Linked DNA regions of Homo sapiens: regions 1 and 3 are each linked to region 2. Evidence: promoter capture Hi-C in human tissues and cell types (Jung and others, 2019). All regions are on one chromosome and are shown on one strand. Each heading gives the region's core, a stretch centred on a gene start or on the middle of the fragment in contact. The rest is flanking DNA. Distances are from core to core; before and after follow the strand shown. Region 1 holds the start of SPI1 (Spi-1 proto-oncogene). Region 2 overlaps LRP4 (LDL receptor related protein 4). Region 3 holds the start of PSMC3 (proteasome 26S subunit, ATPase 3).

Evidence for each region. Contacts are between HindIII fragments. The study calls those that stand out against the background at their distance.
Region 1: the fragment with the promoter of SPI1 here is called in contact with a fragment that was not itself captured in region 2 in 1 of the 25 tissues and cell types used here (dorsolateral prefrontal cortex).
Region 3: a contact is called between the fragment with the promoter of PSMC3 here and a fragment that was not itself captured in region 2, in 1 of the 25 tissues and cell types used here (stomach).

Annotation. Positions count from the first base shown.
Region 1 is chr11:47,375,875-47,379,924 of GRCh38, reverse strand. It overlaps SPI1 (Spi-1 proto-oncogene), which reads left to right and starts at 1,378. Exons shown (of 5, transcript NM_003120.3): 1 at 1,378-1,616. The coding sequence starts at 1,572. RefSeq lists enhancers at 1,215-1,284, 780-1,731, 1,905-1,954, 2,625-2,824. The HindIII fragment of the contact is 21,953 bases long and covers 1-4,050 here.
Region 2 is chr11:46,857,676-46,861,875 of GRCh38, reverse strand. It overlaps LRP4 (LDL receptor related protein 4), which reads left to right. Exons shown (of 38, transcript NM_002334.4): 38 at 2,561-4,200. The coding sequence ends at 2,893. The region is part of intron 2 of LRP4-AS1 (LRP4 antisense RNA 1); the gene reads right to left. Among named protein-coding and RNA genes, the nearest start is that of LRP4-AS1, 13 kb to the right of the region's middle. The HindIII fragment of the contact is 4,802 bases long and covers 115-4,200 here.
Region 3 is chr11:47,424,458-47,428,610 of GRCh38, reverse strand. PSMC3 (proteasome 26S subunit, ATPase 3) reads left to right here and starts at 2,172. Exons shown (of 12, transcript NM_002804.5): 1 at 2,172-2,406; 2 at 2,661-2,744; 3 at 3,365-3,490; 4 at 3,900-4,004; 5 at 4,120-4,153. The coding sequence starts at 2,332. RefSeq lists silencers at 1,934-2,063, 2,334-2,545 and an enhancer at 2,164-2,363. The HindIII fragment of the contact is 16,812 bases long and covers 1-4,153 here.

The sequences.
Region 1 (4,050 bases), core at 129-2,628, 520 kb before region 2:
GTTATATTGTATTTATATATATATATAATGAAATACTATTCAGCCATAAAAAAGAATGAAATTATGTCTTTGCAGCAACATGGATGGAATTGGAGGACATTATCATATGCGAAACAACGCAGAAACAGAAAGTCAAATACTGCCTGTTCTCATGGGGCTCCTGGAAACCGAAGCTGATAGGTGAATGGATGGATAGGTGGATGAATAGATGGGTGGAATGGTAGGTGGGTGGATTGGTAGATGGGTGGATGAGTGGACTGGTGGATGGATGGATGAATGAATGAAGGGGTAGGTGGATGATGGATGGGTTGATGGACAGATGAGTGGATGGGTAGATGGGTGGATGAGTGGATGGGTGGATGGATGGACAGGTGGATGAATGGATGAGCAGATTCATAGATGGATAAACAGATGGAATTGTGGACTGATGGACTGATAGCAGGTGGACGGGCTGATTAATGGACATATAGATGGTTAGATAGACAAGTAGATAAACAGATGGGTGGGTGGATGAATTGACTGACAGATGAATGAACAAACAAACGGACAGTTGGATAAATGGACACATAAGTGAATGCATGGTGGGCTTGATGAATGGATAGCTGGATGGACAAATAGACAGACAAATAGATGCATGGGAAAACAGATGAATGGTGGATAGGCAAGAAAGGTTTGTAAACCAGGAGGGTTAGATTGATATTCAGGCATTGCCAAGGGATGGGGAAACTGAGAAACCTGGGCTGGAAACAGAGCCCTAGGGATTTGAATGTGGTAATCAAGAAGCTGGGAGGGGAGGGTATAAGAACCCAGGACCCTCTTCTGGTGGTAGGGAAGCCCATGTGAACAGATTCAGAGGGAAGGAAGAAAGCAGCACTATGCTGAAGACCCTACACCTGAGCCCAGCCTCAGCCTAGGGATAGCCTAGGCAGTGGGGGTGCAGGGCCACAGGAAGAGCCAGGCCTGATAGCCTGCTAGATCAGAGCCCTCACCCAGGAAGGCTGACTCCAGAAAGTGGAGGCCCCAAGAGGCCACCCCTTCCAGCTCTGACCCCAATGAGGTGACTGTTGGCTACATAGGGATCTCAAAAGAAGCAGGCATTTGTTGGGTTAGAGCAAAAGCCTCCCAGTGGTGTGGCAGAGCTACACGTTCTCCCTCCCATCCTCCCTCCCCAGCTTAGCCCCCAAAGTCATCCCTCTCAGTCCCAGCTTCCTCTGGGCAGGGGGCCTGGACCCCATGGCTTCCCAGGCCAGCCCTTTGAGCACCACCTGCCCCAGCCGGCCAGAGACTTCCTGTATGTAGCGCAAGAGATTTATGCAAACGGGTTGGGGCGGTGATGTCACCCCAAGGGGACTATCTCCCAGCGGCAGGCCCTTCGATAAAATCAGGAACTTGTGCTGGCCCTGCAATGTCAAGGGAGGGGGCTCACCCAGGGCTCCTGTAGCTCAGGGGGCAGGCCTGAGCCCTGCACCCGCCCCACGACCGTCCAGCCCCTGACGGGGCACCCCATCCTGAGGGGCTCTGCATTGGCCCCCACCGAGGCAGGGGATCTGACCGACTCGGAGCCCGGCTGGATGTTACAGGCGTGCAAAATGGAAGGGTTTCCCCTCGTCCCCCCTGTGAGTACCGGGACTCCTCCACCAGCCCAACCCGTGGCCCTCGGACGCCTGCCTGCCTGCCCACGAACCCGCCAGCCCACCCACTGCCCTCCTGGCTTGCTATCAGTGGGAAGTCAGGGTTTCCTCCCTGGAACTCCTGGCCTGAGACCCAGCGAGGGGGCCATTGGCTTCCTCGGAGCATGCCCTGGCGGGCTGAGGCCAGGCCCACGGTGGGGCTGTGATCGGTGGGGCCTGAACAGTTATTTATAGACAGGGCTCGGGTGGCAGGCGGAGGCCGGGGCTCCTGGGGAGGGTGCTGGGCTGAGGATGGTGAAGGCGGTGGTAGAGAGGTAGAGGAGGGAGATGGGGGGACTGGCTTGGGGGAGGCCGGTCCCCTGGATGGGAAGGGGTTGAAGGCAGGAGGCAATGGGCAGAAGTCTTGGCCCATGGCCTTGGGGCTCCTGGAAACCAAAGCTGATGGAACTCTGGGTCCCCAACGCCCAGTCTGGGGCCTGGCACAGAGGACATGATTGTTGACCAAAGGGTCAGGGCCATGGGCCCACAGGGGTACCCACAGGAGACAGGGACTGGTGCTGGAAAGGAGCCAGGAGTGGAGCTGAGACAGTGCAGTTAGGGCTGGCCCCAGGGCTGGAGTTCAGGGAGAGGCGCGGCAGGGGACAGGGCTGGGACAAGGCCAGGACTGAGATTGGGGCTGGGTGGGACCTGGGGTGAGCATGTGATAAGTGAGAATGGGGGCTGAGGCTGGGACAAGGACAGGGACTGGGTCTTGGGGGTGAAGAAGTGGGAGCCCCAGGGGACCCCGAGAAGAGAAGGGCAGATCGCCACTGCTCCTCACTCTCAGTGACAGTTGCAGCCTTAGGCAGGTGTCAGACCAGGGTCCCTCGGAAAGGACCCTTCTCCCTTTTCCCACCCCATGACCTCTCAGGAGTGAGGAGGCTTGAGGGGAGCCGGGAAGGGCTTGGCAGGCTGCCCACCTGAATCCACTTTCCTGGTCTAGAGGCAGCTCCCTTCCCCCACTATGCCCTGGCTCAGAGCCACCCCAGGAGGCTGGGAGGCACCCCAGGCCTGACATCACACCAACCCGACCAGAGCCGGGCTGACATCCTGCAGCGAGGCTGTACTACCTGGAAACCCAGAGGGGCAGGCTCAGTGCTGGGCTCCTGGCCTCCTCACTTGGCCAGCCACAGGCAGGACCAGGCAGGACCAGCCAGCCTGCTGTGGCATCCACACCGACACCCCTTCCCACCTGGGAACACGAAGTGGGCGGCCCAGGCAGAGGGTGACGGAGGTTGTCTCAGAAAGAGCCAATTCTGCCTCAAGAAAGCCACAGGCCCACTGTCTCTGATCCCTGACCTCTCAATTCTGAACTCCAGGTGGAGCTAGATGGGTGGCAGAGCTCCTTGGGCCATCCCTAGGCACCCCCAGCCCTCTCTGCAAGCTCCAGGGTCACTCTGAGTGTCTCCTGGTAGGGTGGGCTCCCAAGGCAGCCCCGGTCCCCCAAGCCCAGCCCTAAGGGCCACAGTGACTGTTATGCAATCCTGGGCCACACGCTGCGGGGGCGGGGAGGCCTGATGACTGTTGGGAAGGCTCCTGGGTGTGCACGGCCCTGTGTCTGTGCCAGTAGGGGGAGGAGGACAGGGAGGAGGGAGGAAGGTGGGAGGAAAGAAGGAGGACAGGGAAGAGGGGGAAGAAAAGGAGGACAGAGGGGAGTGAGGAGGGGGAGGAGGAAGCAAAGGAGACGGGGAGGGGGATGCAGTGAGGAGGGAAGGAGGAGGATAGGGAGGACTCAGGAGGGAGAGTGAGGGGATCAAGGCCCTCCATGCGCTCGGCCCCTAAGTCTGCCTGGGTGACCCCTGCACCAACCGTCAGTGTGGAGGGTCATTGTGGTGCCACTCTTGCCCAGGCTGTGTGAGAGGCATAGGCTGTGAGAGTGGGGCTGGGCAGGCAAGTGTGTGCTGTGCGGTTGAGTGTGCAGGTGGAATGTGAGTGGCTCTGGGGGTGTGAGTGTGTGTGTTGATGGCTGGAACGTGGTGTCATGTGAGTGTCAATCAAGGAGACTCTGCGTGTGTGCATGAGCTGAGTGTACAATGTCTCTGTGAGGTGGGTGACCTCTGAGTGGGTATGAAGATGTGTGTGTGAGGGATAGTGTGCAGGCGCCTGCATGGGGGTGGGTAGGGGCTGTGAGAGTGAGTCCTCGTGTGGGATTATGAGTGTGAGGGTGACACAGGGATCGTGTGGACATGTGCATCAGTGTGACCAGGAGAGGTGTGTGGGATGAGGATGGGGGCACACAGGCGTGAGTGTGAGTGTGAGCGTGAGGTGGCTATGGGGAGTAGCCCAGCAGAGGGGGACCCTGGTCCTCTTCTGACCTCTCACCCCCAAGGTCCCTGTCACCCCTTTTCAGGCCTTCTGGGTCCCCTGCCCCACTCTCTGT
Region 2 (4,200 bases), core at 1,266-3,765:
GCTGGTCTTGAACTCCTGACCTCAGGTGATCCACCTGCCTCGGCCTCCCAAAGTGCTGGGATTACAGGCGTGAGCCACTGCGCCCAGCCTGCTTTTGTTTGTTTGTTTTTTTTTAACTTCTTTGTCACTTCAATGGAAAATTATTTGCTCAATGTGAAGGCATGAAAAATAGTCCCATTTCAATGAGCTGGTTGTGGTGGCTTGTGCCTGTAGTCCCAGCTACACAGGAGGCTGAGGTAGGAGGATCACTTGAGCTCAGGAGTTGGAGGCTGCAGTGAGCTGTGATCATGCCACTACCCTCCAGCCTGGGTGACAATGAGACCCTGTCTCAAAAAAAAAAAAAAAAAAAAAAGTCCCATTTCCACAAGGAAACTAACTATACCTGGTATTTCAGATTTTCCTAATCCAATATAAGCCTTGTTTTTTTCCTAAAATCCTGTAACTCTTCATCAGAAGTTATTCCTTATGAAGATCCTCATCAGTCTACTTCTTTGGCCTATCTAGCACAGTCAGAACCTGCTCTCACACCTGCAGGGCTCTCATGTGTAATAAACACATTTCACATAATAATCATGTGCTTTCTGGATCCATGAATTCCCGTATTTAAATAGCTTCCACTACTTCTGGTTCAAGTTGGTGTTTGAAAAAAAAAATTGAAATTAAAAATTTTTTAAAAGCTTCTACTGCAGTCAAAACAGAATGTGCAGGGATGGCTTGTAGTTCTAGGAATGGTAGACCCCTCCCCAATATCTTTGAGAGAAAGACTCTTGAAGATTCTTGGGTTCCTGGAGTATCTGATGCTCCAGAAAAGAACCACAATGAAGGCCACAGGATAGCAATGAAAATAGTGTGACCTCTTTCTTCTGTTGTGTGTTTCTTCCTCAGCAGCTCTTTCACCCCTCTGATAGTCTTTCACCTTTTCTCTTCTGATTTCCTCTTGATTTCAGGTACCTGTTGCTGTGTGTTTGTAGAGGGAGTGGTGTTTCCCAAATTGCAAGTGCCATATCCCCCACCTCTCCCTAACTTACCCAGCGTGTCTCTTAATTAAGACATTGAGTGGTCTGCATCTTATACTAATTTCATCTTGGAGGGTGTGCTGGGTGAACAGACATCTGTGTGTTTGCTTGTGTGCTATGTCCCACTCTGCATGGCTGAGGGGACTGTCACTCTCAGAGGGCAGGGACCATGTTTTATATTGTATAATCATCAAAGCACCTAGCACAGTCTTCTGCTTAACATAGGGGCTCAGTAAATATCTGTGGAATTGAATTGTTACAAAAATAGAGCCACAGCCACAGTTGCAGAACTCTTGGCAGGAATACTATCCCAGGGACAGAACCCAAGATGATCCATTTTCTTCTAGCAGTGGTGGTATGTCGGTTGGTATACCCCAGCAGCCAGGAGTGAGGCTGCTCTTTGAAGAAGCCATAAAGGGAGAGGCCCGAGCAGAACTCCAGGCTGTGCCTGGAAGAGTCCCAGGTTTTGCTTGGGAATGGTCCCAGGACTCATGGCAGCAGAGCGAGAGTAACCTCCCAAAAAAGGTTATAAGTTGCAGGACCCCACTATATTGACGTTTAGGACCCAGATAAGAAGATTTCCTTTTTTTTAGTTTTTTTTCTTTCTTTCTTTCTTTTTTTTTTTTTAATGGAATCTTGCTCTGTCACCCAGGCTGGAGTGCAGTGGCATGATCTTGGCTCACTGTAACCTCAGCCTCCGGAGTTCAAGGGATTCTCCTGCCTCAGCCTCCCAAATAGCTGGGATTACAGGCACCCGCCACCAAACCCAGCTGATTTTTGTATTTTTAGTAGAGATGGGGTTTCACCATGTTGGCCAGGCTAGTCTCGAACTCCTGAACTCAAGTGATCTGCCCGCCTGGGCCTCCCAAAGTGCTGGGATTACAGGTGTAAGCCACCACGCCCGGCCAGATAAGAGGATTTTCTAGAGTCCCCTGTCTTACCTCCCAAGTTTTCTCCTTAACAAAATTAGAAAAAAGAGATACAAACTAGCACCCGAAGTAGCTTAAAATCCTGAATAAATGTACATTTAATTGCTCTTGCCAATTGCTTTTGATGATTTATATCAGCATGATGTCCCATTAATAAACCACAGTAACAATGTAACATAGCTAACATGTTATAGTGCATCTTGTGTCAAGCTCCCTGATAACTGCATTCCATGTATCATCTCATTTAAGGTGACAGCAGTTGGTTGTGAGGTGTGGATACTGTTACTCTCCTCACACTGCAGAGTCTTAAGAGACTGAGTTTTAGAAATGTGAAATAATTTGCCTAAGGTGACAAAGCCAGTGAGTGGCTGCTGCAGGACCGGAAGCCATGGTTTTCCCTCCTCCTGTATGGTAATGGTAATAATTATCACAGCTGCCTCTCCCCTTTTAGGCTAGGCCTCATACACTTGTCTTAATCACATTTCCCCATTTGTTTGTGGGATTTTTGTGCGCTTCACTCCTACTCTTACCCCATCCACTTCCTTTTTCAGTTTACCATGGGATCCTTTGTAGAAGGCCAACTGACTGACCATATCTGCCCACTCTCCACCCTAGGGAGGGCCTGACCATAACTACACCAAGGAGAAGATCAAGATCGTAGAGGGAATCTGCCTCCTGTCTGGGGATGATGCTGAGTGGGATGACCTCAAGCAACTGCGAAGCTCACGGGGGGGCCTCCTCCGGGATCATGTATGCATGAAGACAGACACGGTGTCCATCCAGGCCAGCTCTGGCTCCCTGGATGACACAGAGACGGAGCAGCTGTTACAGGAAGAGCAGTCTGAGTGTAGCAGCGTCCATACTGCAGCCACTCCAGAAAGACGAGGCTCTCTGCCAGACACGGGCTGGAAACATGAACGCAAGCTCTCCTCAGAGAGCCAGGTCTAAATGCCCACATTCTCTTCCCTGCCTGCCTGTTCCTTCTCCTTTATGGACGTCTAGTCCTTGTGCTCGCTTACACCGCAGGCCCCGCTTCTGTGTGCTTGTCCTCCTCCTCCTCCCACCCCATAACTGTTCCTAAGCCTTCACCGGAGCTGTTTACCACGTGAGTCCATAACTACCTGTGCACAAGAAATGATGGCACATCACGAGAATTTAGACCTGGATTTTACCATGAACCTCACATCTTGTACTCCATCCTGGGCCCCCTGAAACTGCTTATTCGTGATTCCTCACCAGCGTAGAGCTCCACCTCCCCTTTCCCCAGTACCCTCAGTGCCTGCTTCTCAGTGCTGATGCAGCTGATGACCCAGGACTGCGCTCTGCCCCATCACAGCCAGCATGACTGCTTCTCTGAGAGAACTTGCCCATCAGGGGCTGGGACATGGGGGTGTGGGTAAAGACAGGGATGAAGGATAGAGGCTGAGAGAAGAAGGAAGAATCAGCCCAGCAGGTATGGGCATCTGGGAAACCTCCAGCCTCAAGTGTGTTAGTAACATGAAAAAGCTTTGGGGGGTAGTTGGATCTGGGTGTCTGGTCCATTGCTGGCAGTGGACATTATTCTTGCCCTAAGAGACACTGCCTTTTCAGCAGCAGATACTGGTGAGATGGGGGTGGCTCAGGCTGTTCTTCCTCCTCCTAGAATGTCTGGAGCTGTTTCTACATTCAGATAACTGGGTCCCCTATCACAAGGCTACTGGCTAATAGGAATTCCCTCCTGGTGCCACCACTGGCCAGTACCTTTCCTAAGTCTTTGCTCAAATTAACCAGGTTGTGAGCCAGTGGCTTGAGTGAATGTTAGGCCTTGGGGGCTGAGTCTCTGAAAAGTCTAAGAAGCTCTGCCTAGACCAAATATGGTATACCTCCTGACCCCTCTCTCCCTCATGTCCTGGGATTCTGGGGAAGAGACCTAGAAACAAGCTTTCAAAGAAAAACCAGAAGTTGTCATAAATGGTCAGAAAGAACGATCAGGTTGGAGACTTGGGAAACCCAGGGCCTAAAGAGAAGTATCCATGAGGGTCAAACTTCCTGTTGAACTTCCTATGTTCTTTCTCAAGTGCTCAGGGATCTAAGTTAGTGGACAGCAAGCCTGTGGCTACGGGGTGGTGATGTTCCTCTTCCAGCTGTCCCCTCAGCTAAGGGGCTTAGTTTCCATGTGGGATGCCATCACTTGGTTCATGCTCATTCACACAAAGGGCACGTGTCTCAGCCTGGTATCAGGGAAATTGAGACTTATTTTTGCCCTAAAACGTCTC
Region 3 (4,153 bases), core at 923-3,422, 570 kb before region 2:
CTGTAGTCCCAGCACTTTGGGAGGCCGAGGCGGGCGGATCACGAGGTCAGGAGATCGAGGCCATCCCGGCTAAAACGGTGAAACCCCGTCTCTACTAAAAATACAAAAAATTAGCCGGGCGTAGTGGCGGGCGCCTGTAGTCCCAGCTACTTGGGAGGCTGAGGCAGGAGAATGGCGTGAACCCGGGAGGCGGAGCTTGCAGTGAGCCGAGATCCCGCCACTGCACTCCAGCCTGGGCGACAGAGCGAAACTCCGTCTCAAAAAAAAAAAAAAAAAAAAAAAGATGGCTCAGAAGAGCCTACCTAAAAGTTGGTTAAGGGGAGAATGTCTGCATCCCTCCTAGGCCCAGGCTGGAGGCTTTCTAAACATATTCGTATTTGTCAGGATCTCCAAAAGTAGGCCCCAGAATGGGACCCAACTGACCCAGGCATAGTGGGACCAGCACAGATTGGACAGTCTTTCCCCTCTGGGCTTCTTGGCTCCTATCGGGCAACTCAAAGTGAGAATTTGGGGTCAGCAGTCCTAGTGCTGCCAGTGACTCACTGAATAACCTCCAGCAAGGCACTTAACCTCTCTGAGCCTCCCTATGCTTATTTAAATTTGAGAATGGTAATTCAGTCTGTCCACAAGGCAGGCTTGTTGAGAGAATGGAATAAAGCACTGTTACTTGAGGAGACGCTTTGTCAGCCTGAGTGAGCAGCTGTACATGTTGTTATTTAAAGAAAAAAATTCTGCTTTCAACCGTGTTCCAAAAAAAACTACTGCAAAGGCTAGGTGTAGTGGTTCATGCCTATAGTACCAACACTTTAGGAGGCTGAGGCAGGAAGATCACTTACGCCCAGGAGTTTGAGACCAGCCTGGTCAACATGGTGAAACCTTGTCTCTACTAAAAATACAAAAATTAGTTGGGCGTGGTGGTGGGTGCCTGTAATCCCAGCTACTTGAGAGGCTGAGGCAGGAGAATCCATTGAACCCGGGAGGCGGAGGTTGCGGTAGGGAGAGACCGCGCCACTGCATTCCAGCCTGGGCGACAGAGCGAGACTCCGTCTCAAAAAACAAAAAACAAACAAGCAAACAAAAAAAAGGCAACGATTGCACAGATTTTCATCAGGTTAACAGAGTGTTTGTGATGGTTTGACTTGAAATATAAGCTATGTTGCTTACATGAAGTTCCCTTTAAAGGGGCTCCAGGGCTCACCTCAAAGGATAAGGAGAGATCATTTAAAATAGCCGACAAGGGTACAACGAATGAGTCTCCCATGATCCGGAGACCCGCTCTGCTCACTGAGATTACTAACCATGGTCAGAGAAAACAAACAATTGCAGATACGAGACATAATTTTTTTTGAGACGGAGTCTCGCTCTGTCGCCCAGGCTGGAGTGCAGTGGCGCGATCACGGCTCACTGCAAGCTCCGCCTCCGAGGTTCATGCCATTCTCCTGGCTCAGCCCGGAGTAGCTGGGACTACGGGCGCCCACCACCACGCCCGGCTAATTTTTTGTATATTTAGTAGAGACGGGGTTTCACCGTGTTAGCCAGGATGGTCTCGATCTCCTGACCTCGTGATCCGCCCGCCTCGGCCTCCCAAAGTGCTGGGATTACAGGCGTGAGCCACCGCGCCCGGCCCGAGTCATAATGTTTTTAATCGTAGAGGCTGATGGTCAATTGAGTTCTTCCCACGTGGACAATTCCGTGAAGCCTGCTCTGACGTTAGGAGCAGCAGCGATTTCTCTTTAAAGCTGGTTAATGATTCCCTCCCGTAACTCCGGGTGGCCAGCTTGTACTTAAATAATTGTAAAAATGCGGACTGAGGTGGCATGCCTTTTTGGCCCTTTGCACACGGCTGGCCTATGTCGTTTATTAATTGGGAGGCAGTGTCATTGTGTAAATCCCCTTATTCCTAGCGGGGTCACGGTCTGAGTTTGAACGCGCCCCTCCGCAAGCATCTGTCACGGGCCAGATTAAAGACTACATTTCCCAAAGGCCCTCGCGGATCCCACCCTTCTCCCTCCCTTTCCGGTTTTACACATAGGCCCCGCCCCCAACGCGCGTGTCGGCCAATAGCGGCCCCACCTCTCGCGCCCGGCAAAAATAGGACGCGGGCGGGAACGTTTCGGGGTCCGCGGGGGCGGGGCCTGTGGCCAGGGGTTGGTCTTTGGAATCGGAGAGGCAGATTCGCTGCTCCGCAGCACGGCCGGAGCTGGTCGGGTCAAGAGTCGGGATTTGTGGGGAGAGGTTTTCCACTGGTCAAGAGAAGGCTTTAAGAAAGACGGTATTAATCTCCCGTTGCGGCTCCCGCCTGGTCCCATCTTCTGCCCGCTCCTCCAGGAAATGAATCTGCTGCCGAATATTGAGAGTCCAGTGACTCGGCAGGAGAAGATGGCGACCGTGTGGGATGAGGCCGAGGTGGGCACCGGGCGAGCTGGCGGTCCGGGAACCGGGGCCCGCAGGGAGACGCCATTGACAAGAGGGAAGGAGGTGGCTGGGGGTCAAGGTCTGGCCCGATCCCGGGGACGGGGTTGTTTGGGATGTGGGCAGGGGTCCTGACTCCATCCTGGTTTTATGGGCGTGGAAACTGAGGCTGTGAGTGGGTTCGGAGAACGAGGGATGCTTGTCCTGAGTAAAAGTAAATATATAAATAAACAAATAATTTTTTACAGCAAGATGGAATTGGGGAGGAGGTGCTCAAGATGTCCACGGAGGAGATCATCCAGCGCACACGGCTGCTGGACAGTGAGATCAAGGTGGGCGCACAGCTCCTGTGCGGGCGATGGAGCCCCCACAGGACAGGCCCCGGCGATCCGAGTCGCCTCTCGTACTTCCTAATCGGGCACCCTGGGGGAGACATGGGGCTCGGGCTTCCCCCTCATATCAGGAAGAGAGGAAAGAAAACTAAGCCTTAAAAGGGACAAGAAGACAGGTAGGGGGTGGTGGGAGGCCTGGGCTGAGATGAGAAGTTATCAGATTGCCTTTCCCAGTGAGAACTGGGAATAATCCTCTCAAGAATCCTTCTTTTAGTAAAATGCCTATTTTACAGATGAGGAGACAGGCCCAGAGAGGTTTGTACTGCGATAAAGCACCCAGTTCTTACTATGAGGCAGAACCTAAAACCTATGTTTGCCTCTCTCGGAGGCCTGCTTTTATTCCAATACTACCACTATTTCACCAGGAGGTTTCCAAACTGGCCTCCTCTTTTGACTTCTGCAGGATGTGGACACAGTCAGACTCTGCCTTCAGAGAGCCTCAGAGCTGGATGAATGGATGCGGGAGGGTCCCCTGGGCACCCTGGACCTCACTAGTTACAGGGCTCTAGCATAAGCTGTGCCAGGGTTTATATTTGCTTCTCCTCCCCTCCTGATCTCAGATCATGAAGAGTGAAGTGTTGAGAGTCACCCATGAGCTCCAAGCCATGAAGGACAAGATAAAAGAGAACAGTGAGAAAATCAAAGTGAACAAGACCCTGCCGTACCTTGTCTCCAACGTCATCGAGGTGTGTGTGTATGTGGAGGGGAAGAGAGGGAGTCAGCAGGGAATGGGGACAGCCTGGGGTGGGGCCACTAGGGAAAGAGTGGGTGGAGGTATTGAGGCCAAACTGCATGTCAGAGCTACACCTCCTGGGGCACTTTCATGGGGAAGACGGGGCCTGCAAAGTCCTGGGAGGTCTCACGTGTCTCCTTTTCTGTTGGTTATGTCTCCTCCGGGGTAGATGAGCCCTGTGCAGAGGAGCAGCACCTACACAGAGATCAATCCCTGGGCTTAGCAGGGGCACCCACGTTTGGTGGGCTCAGGGCTATTGGAGGAGGGAGGTAAGGATGGCCAGCCCTGCAGGTATTAGGAACTGTCTTAGGAAGCACTGGGCCTTGGGGAGTTCAAGGAGCTGAGTATTTTTTCCTTCCCAGCTCCTGGATGTTGATCCTAATGACCAAGAGGAGGATGGTGCCAATATTGACCTGGACTCCCAGAGGAAGGGCAAGTGTGCTGTGATCAAAACCTCTACACGACAGGTGAGCGTGGCTCAGCAATGAGAGACTGGAGGAGGGTGAGGAGCGGATGTGGGACAGGACTAGGGAGCCTTCCCTGAGGACACTAACTGAGACTGCCCCTGTAACTTGTCCACAGACGTACTTCCTTCCTGTGATTGGGTTGGTGGATG